Linked DNA regions of Homo sapiens: region 1 is linked to region 2. Evidence: promoter capture Hi-C in human tissues and cell types (Jung and others, 2019). All regions are on one chromosome and are shown on one strand. Each heading gives the region's core, a stretch centred on a gene start or on the middle of the fragment in contact. The rest is flanking DNA. Distances are from core to core; before and after follow the strand shown.

The links. Contacts are between HindIII fragments. The study calls those that stand out against the background at their distance.
Region 1: the fragment with the promoter of CATSPER4 here is called in contact with a fragment that was not itself captured in region 2 in 3 of the 25 tissues and cell types used here (aorta, lymphoblastoid cells and spleen).

What each region holds. Positions count from the first base shown.
Region 1 is chr1:26,189,171-26,192,259 of GRCh38, forward strand. CATSPER4 (cation channel sperm associated 4) reads left to right here and starts at 1,432. Exons shown (of 10, transcript NM_198137.2): 1 at 1,432-1,670; 2 at 2,117-2,260. The coding sequence starts at 1,458. It overlaps CNKSR1 (connector enhancer of kinase suppressor of Ras 1), which reads left to right. Exons shown (of 21, transcript NM_006314.3): 21 at 109-714. The coding sequence ends at 378. RefSeq lists an enhancer at 1,318-2,135. The HindIII fragment of the contact is 15,004 bases long and covers 1-3,089 here.
Region 2 is chr1:26,102,029-26,105,023 of GRCh38, forward strand. No RefSeq gene overlaps it. Among named protein-coding and RNA genes, the nearest start is that of PDIK1L, 8.3 kb to the right of the region's middle. The HindIII fragment of the contact is 4,487 bases long and covers 1-2,995 here.

The sequences.
Region 1 (3,089 bases), core at 182-2,681, 87 kb after region 2:
GGCCAGGTGCTGGCTTCCAGGCACCGGACCTCCGGAGTGAAGTCTGGCCTCGGGCTCTGCCCACTTCCCTGGGTGATCATGGTCCCTTAGCCCCTCCTCTCCACACAGGCAAAGCTGCAGGAGCTGCAGGTCCTAGAAGAAGTGCTGGGTGACCCTGAGCTGACAGGAGAGAAGTTCCGCCAGTGGAAGGAGCAGAACCGGGAGCTGTACTCAGAGGGCCTGGGGGCCTGGGGAGTGGCACAGGCTGAAGGCAGCTCCCACATCTTGACCTCTGACTCCACAGAACAGTCCCCCCACTCCCTGCCCTCTGACCCTGAAGAGCACTCCCATCTCTGCCCCCTGACCTCAGAGAGCAGCCTCCGACCTCCTGACCTCTGACCCTGGCCAGCACTCTAGCTCCTGACCTTTGACCCGAGGGCCACCTCAACCCCAGCTTCTGACGTGTCCAGGACAGAGCATCCCTGGATTCTGTTCAGGGTGGGAAGTAGTACTGCTAGTCATGGTCTCACCCCGAGCTGACCCCTCTGCCTGGGCTTTGTGCCACCCTCTCCCTTGCCAAAGAAGAAACTCTCCCCCCAAATCCTCCAACCTCTGGGGCCACAGCCCTGCCCCTCCAGTTCCTTGGCAGTTCTCCCCCAAACCAGGTCTGTACAGGTGTTCTTTATTTTACATGAGGGCTACTTTCCAACCAAATAAAGTCAATTTTTCTAAGAATGAGTCTACATGTAACTTTACTTCCATATTCGAATTGGAAATCTGCCCCCCTGTGGGGACTGGGGTGAGTGCTCTTGGCCAGAGGGTGGGTGGCAGACCCTTCGTGCAGCCCGTTGGCCTGGGCTCTGTACCCGAGCTCCAAGCCTGCCAGGATGGTGGGGGATGACCCATGGCTAATGAGGGCTCCGACTCATGTCCACCTCTCCCCAGCTCTTTGAAGGCTAATGGTGATCTCCTACCCCATTCCCGGGGGGCACACAATGAGAAACTTCCACTTTGTAGATGGGGAAATGCACTTTGCACGGAAAGGTGGTGGGGACAGTCCTGGAGACTGGGCTGGTAGGACAGGGCAGCTGGTGGGGAAGGGTGCAGGTTGAGGTCTGCCCTGGGAAGGCCCTGGGGAAAACACTTCTCTCCTTCACTCCTCATTCCAGCCTCACCTCCACCTCCTGGATCCAAGGCAGGGACATGTCCCTGTGACTCCATTCAGGCTGCACGGGAAATCTGACCTGCTCCCATCAGCCTCTGACTTCCAACCCCAGCCCAGCATCCCCACAGCATCCCCAGACTTCCTCTGTGGGATGCGGAGGAGGGCCAATGGGAGGAGCTTCTCTCCAGGTTGGAATTCCTCAGTAGAATGCAGACGGCTGGAGGTCACAGAGGCCTCTGTGATATCACCACGAGGGGGAGTGAGACCACTTGGAGTGAAGATTCTTTGAGGAGAAGGAAGAGACTGAGCAAACATGAGGGATAATGAAAAGGCCTGGTGGCAGCAATGGACCTCCCATACAGGCCTCGAGGGGTGGGGCGGGACTCAGGAGGACCGTATGGGGTTTGGAGGGGCAGTAGCTGCACTGAGGGGCCGCCCCTCTCCCCTGCAGAGTACCATTCACGAGTCCTACGGTCGGCCAGAGGAGCAAGTGCTCATCAACCGCCAGGAAATCACGAACAAAGCGGTAAGGATAGCTCTCGCCCCACAGTGGCCCCTTCTGCAGCTGTGCTCATGGGCAGCAGGCCCTCATGGTAACTCTGCCCCTCTACCCTCTAAACGCCCCCAGAAGACCCTCCCTAGCACTGATCCCTGAGTGACTGCCCATGATATGTTAGTAACTCTCTGGCAATGCCCCCCATAGGAACCCTTATATAACGATCATCTTCACTATCAGAGAGCCCAAAGAGATTCTCTGGCAATGACTTCCACAAAATCCCCCGATAGTAACCCACTTTTAGTGGCCATTTAGATAGTGATCTCTACACTGATGTCTCCATTCCATGATCCACTCTCAGATGATTTCCCCCCTCTAGAGTGGGCCCCAGGAACCCCCATTCTCTAAGAGCAAACCCCCAGGCAGAGGCTTCCTATGGTGACACCTGCCTGAAGGAAGGTCCTGCCCTCTTCCAGGACGCCTGGGACATGCAGGAGTTCATCACTCACATGTACATCAAGCAGCTGCTCCGACACCCCGCCTTCCAACTGCTGCTGGCCCTGCTGCTGGTGATCAATGCCATCACCATCGCTCTCCGTACCAACTCCTACCTGGACCAGGTGGGATGCCAGCATGACCTCTGCCCCACTAACCCTAATGGGGGGCCTGGGGCAAGAACTCTTCCGGCCTCAGGCTCCTCATCTGTCTATGATGGTTGGATTGGATGCTCTTCAAGGGTCTGTCAGCTCTGACCTTCTAGGAATCTGGAGATCAAGGAAGACTTCATGATGGAGAGGGCTCTGCAGCCTGGCTTTGAGGAATGCATTGGATTTGTACAGGAGGGACAGGAGAAGAATGGTGTGAGCAGAGGGAGGCAAATGGGTGCCTTGTGGAGAAGGGGTATCCAATTCTAACCAGCAGTCACTAAGGGAGAATCACTCAGTGCCAGGCACTGACTGTGCAGACTGCCAGGGTCCCAGGGATAATAAGCACAACTGGGTCCTGTCTCAGACACACAGAAACTGTCATTACAAGTGCTCAAGTAGCACCCAGAGTACATGGAGGCTCAACGAAGGCACTCGAACCTAATCTCAGGGGTCAGAGCTGGCTTCCTGGAGAAAGTGACACTGGAGCTGAGAGTAAAGAAGTAGGATGTGATCTCAGTCACCACAACAAAGAAACAGAAAAAAAGAGCACGTAGGAGTTGGCCAGGCAAAGAGAGGTGGGGGAGACTTTTTGGGGAAAAGAAACAGCATGTGAGAGACTTCTCTGTGTCCAACTTGAAGTTTAGTGTGACTTATCCTTGATGTTTTAATTTCTTTTTTTTTTTTTTTAGAGACAAGGTCTCACTCTGTCACCCAGGCTGGTGTGCAGTGGCGCCATCTTGGCTCAATGCAGCCTTGAACTCCTGGACTCAAGTGATCCTCCTGCCTCAGCCTCCCAAGTAGC
Region 2 (2,995 bases), core at 173-2,672:
TCAAATTTCTATTTATTTTTTAAATTGACAAAAATTGTATTTATTTACTCATATGTACAACATGATGCTTTGAAATATGAATACATTGTGGAATGGCTAAATTTAAGGCCCAGTGTAAATGCTACCTCCTCTCTAAAGCTTTCCTGCCCGCCATTCCCCTCCACAGAAGCACAGTTTGGATTTCCTCCCCTGGGCTATGTAACCTCAGCTGGCACTGGTTGAATTGTACTGTCTGCATATTTATATGTCTGTCTCCCCTCCCAGAGAAAGTCCATGAGGGCAGGGACCTTATCTTTCTGTTCACTGCTTTTTCTCAGCATCAAGCACAATTTCTTGCACGTGGTGGATATTCACCAAATAGCTGTTGACTTAACGAACAAAGTGCCACCATGTGCCAGGCACTAGTTGACTTCTGAAGAGAGGGGTATATGTCAAGACATTTGTTAGCCACCCACCAGCCTCTGAATTTAAGCCTGCCAGTAAGCCCCATCCTTCAGGACACAGAGCTTGGTCAAGGAGGGGCCCACAACCCTATCTCTTACCCCCTACTCCCTAGCCCCTAGCCAATCAGGTCCAACAAGACTTAATTTCAGGAATGTTGTTTGAGGAATAGAGAAGTTGACTTTCTCATTCCTGCAGGATATGATCTCATAAGGCTGAATTCCCACTGGTGACCCCGAGGCCCACAAGGGAAGCCAGCCTTAAGATGAAGGCAGCATCATGGGAGGCAGAACAGAGGAAACTAGAGTCTTTGGTGACATGTGAGCTGCTGAATCAAACTTCCTTCCCGAAGCTAGCCCTCCCACCTCCATTTCTCTTAGGTAAATGTACCAATCATTCCTTTCAGTCACTTTGAGTTGAGTTTCTGCTCTTGCAACATGAAGCATCCAGAAGAGGCCAGAGAATCAGAGGAAGCCGAAGCTTTAACACTTCAGGACCTGCTGAGGAGTCGGGTGAATCCTCAGTTTGGGACACTCCCAACACCCCCATCCAGCATGGTTTTCAGATGGTGGCATCCCCAGCAGCTCTTGGACCCAGGGGCAGGAGATGTGAACCTGGGTCTTAACCATCAGCTGCTCCAGCTGTTCTCAGTCCTCACCAAGAAGACAACTAGGACCCATCCAAAGACAAAAACAGCTAATGTTATACCTGGTGCAAGACCTTTGTGGGCCCCCAGATCACTTGTCTCAGGGGCTGGATCAGAAATAAACATTTTGATCTTCTTATTACAAGCATAGTGGAGGTGTAGGATTCAAGAATCAGAGTGTTGGAGCTATAAGGATCCTTAGAGATGAGCTGGTCAGACCCCCTCATTTTGCAGATGGGGAGACTGAGGCCCACAGCAGGGGGGAGTCTTTCTTGCTCAAGATGACACAGCGTGTTAGTGCCAAAGCTAATACCCTTCCTAAAGGAGTTTCTCCCTCAGCCTCCCCCTGCAGAAATGGGGCTGGGGTGGCTGGGCACAGTGGCTCACGCCTATAATCCCAACACTTTGGGAGGCCGAGGTGGGTGGATCACCTGAGGTCAGGAGTTCGAGACCAGCCTGGCCAATATGGCAAAACCCCATCTCTATCAAAAATACAAAAATTAGCCAGGCATGGTGGCGCATGCCTATGATCCTAGCTACGCAGGAGGCTCAGGCAGGAGAATCGCTTGAACCCAGGAGGCAGAGGTTGCAGTGAGCCAAGATTGTGCCATTGCACTCGAGCCTAGGCAACAGAGCAAGACTCCATCTCAAAAAAAAAAAAAAAAAAGAAAAGAAAAGAAAAGAAATGGGGCTGGGGCTCCCCAAGCTTGGGAAGAAGAAGGGAGGGGACACTGTCGGGGATTCTCTCTGCTACAGCAGTTAGGAGCTGCTCCGGAAACATTCACTGACAGGCCTAGCCAGTCGCCCTTAATGACCTCATTGTGGCATTTTGATAACAACTTGTGGTTGGCTCAGTGGGTACTAGGTCTCTAACAATGCATCAATGATGCCTCTCATAATTTCTCCAGAGGAGAAATTCAGGGTCAGCAATCTGGTGGGAAGAAAGACTCCAAGATGTGCCTTGGGGACAGGGTGTATATGGGAAGTCTGTAATTTCCACTCAACTTCACTGTGAACCTAAAACTTCTCTAAAAATAAAGTCTTTTAAAACACACACACACACAACCGGGCATGGTGGCTCATGCCTGAAATCCCAGCACTTTGGGAGGCCAAGGCGGGCAGATCACTTAAAGCCAGGGGTTCAAGGCTAGCCTGGCCAACATGGTGAAACCCCATCTCTACTAAAAATACAAAAATGAGCCAGGAGTGGTGGCATGCGCCTGTATTCCAGCTACTCGGGCGCCTGTAATTCCAGCTACTCAGGGGGCTGAGGTGGGAGAATCGCTTGAACCCAGGAGGCGGAGGTTGCAGTAAGCCAAGATTGTGCCACTGCACTCCAGCCTGGGGGACAGAGCGAGACTCCATCTCAAACACACACACACACACACACACACACACACACACACACACGCAGTTAGACCCCAATTGAAGTGCCTGTGTGACTTTGGACAAGTTCTTTCACCTCTTAGAACCTTTGTTTCCTCAGTTGTAAAAGGGAGGACAATAATAGCACATGCTTTACAGGGTCACTGTGCAGATTAGATGAGATCACTCTATAAACAGTACTTTGCACAGTGCCTCGCACAGAAGTTAGTATGAATATTACCTATTATTTATTTATATTACCGATTTGTATTTATTTATCTATAGTTTATAGGTAAAATTGCTCCATGATAATCTGCTTCCTGTGGACCCATTCTAATTAGGGACAGCCCATTTGCCTCTTCCCATGTGACCTCTCTTCAGATAGGAAAAGTAAGGCTCAGATTCATGTTGATTTATGGGGCTGGGGACCTGGAGTCCAAAGACTCCAGGAGTCTTGGCTCCACCAGTGACTTATTAGGAACCTAAGTTACTGAGTCCCTTTGAGTCTCAGTTTCTCCAGATGTAAAAGGCTATGCTCATATT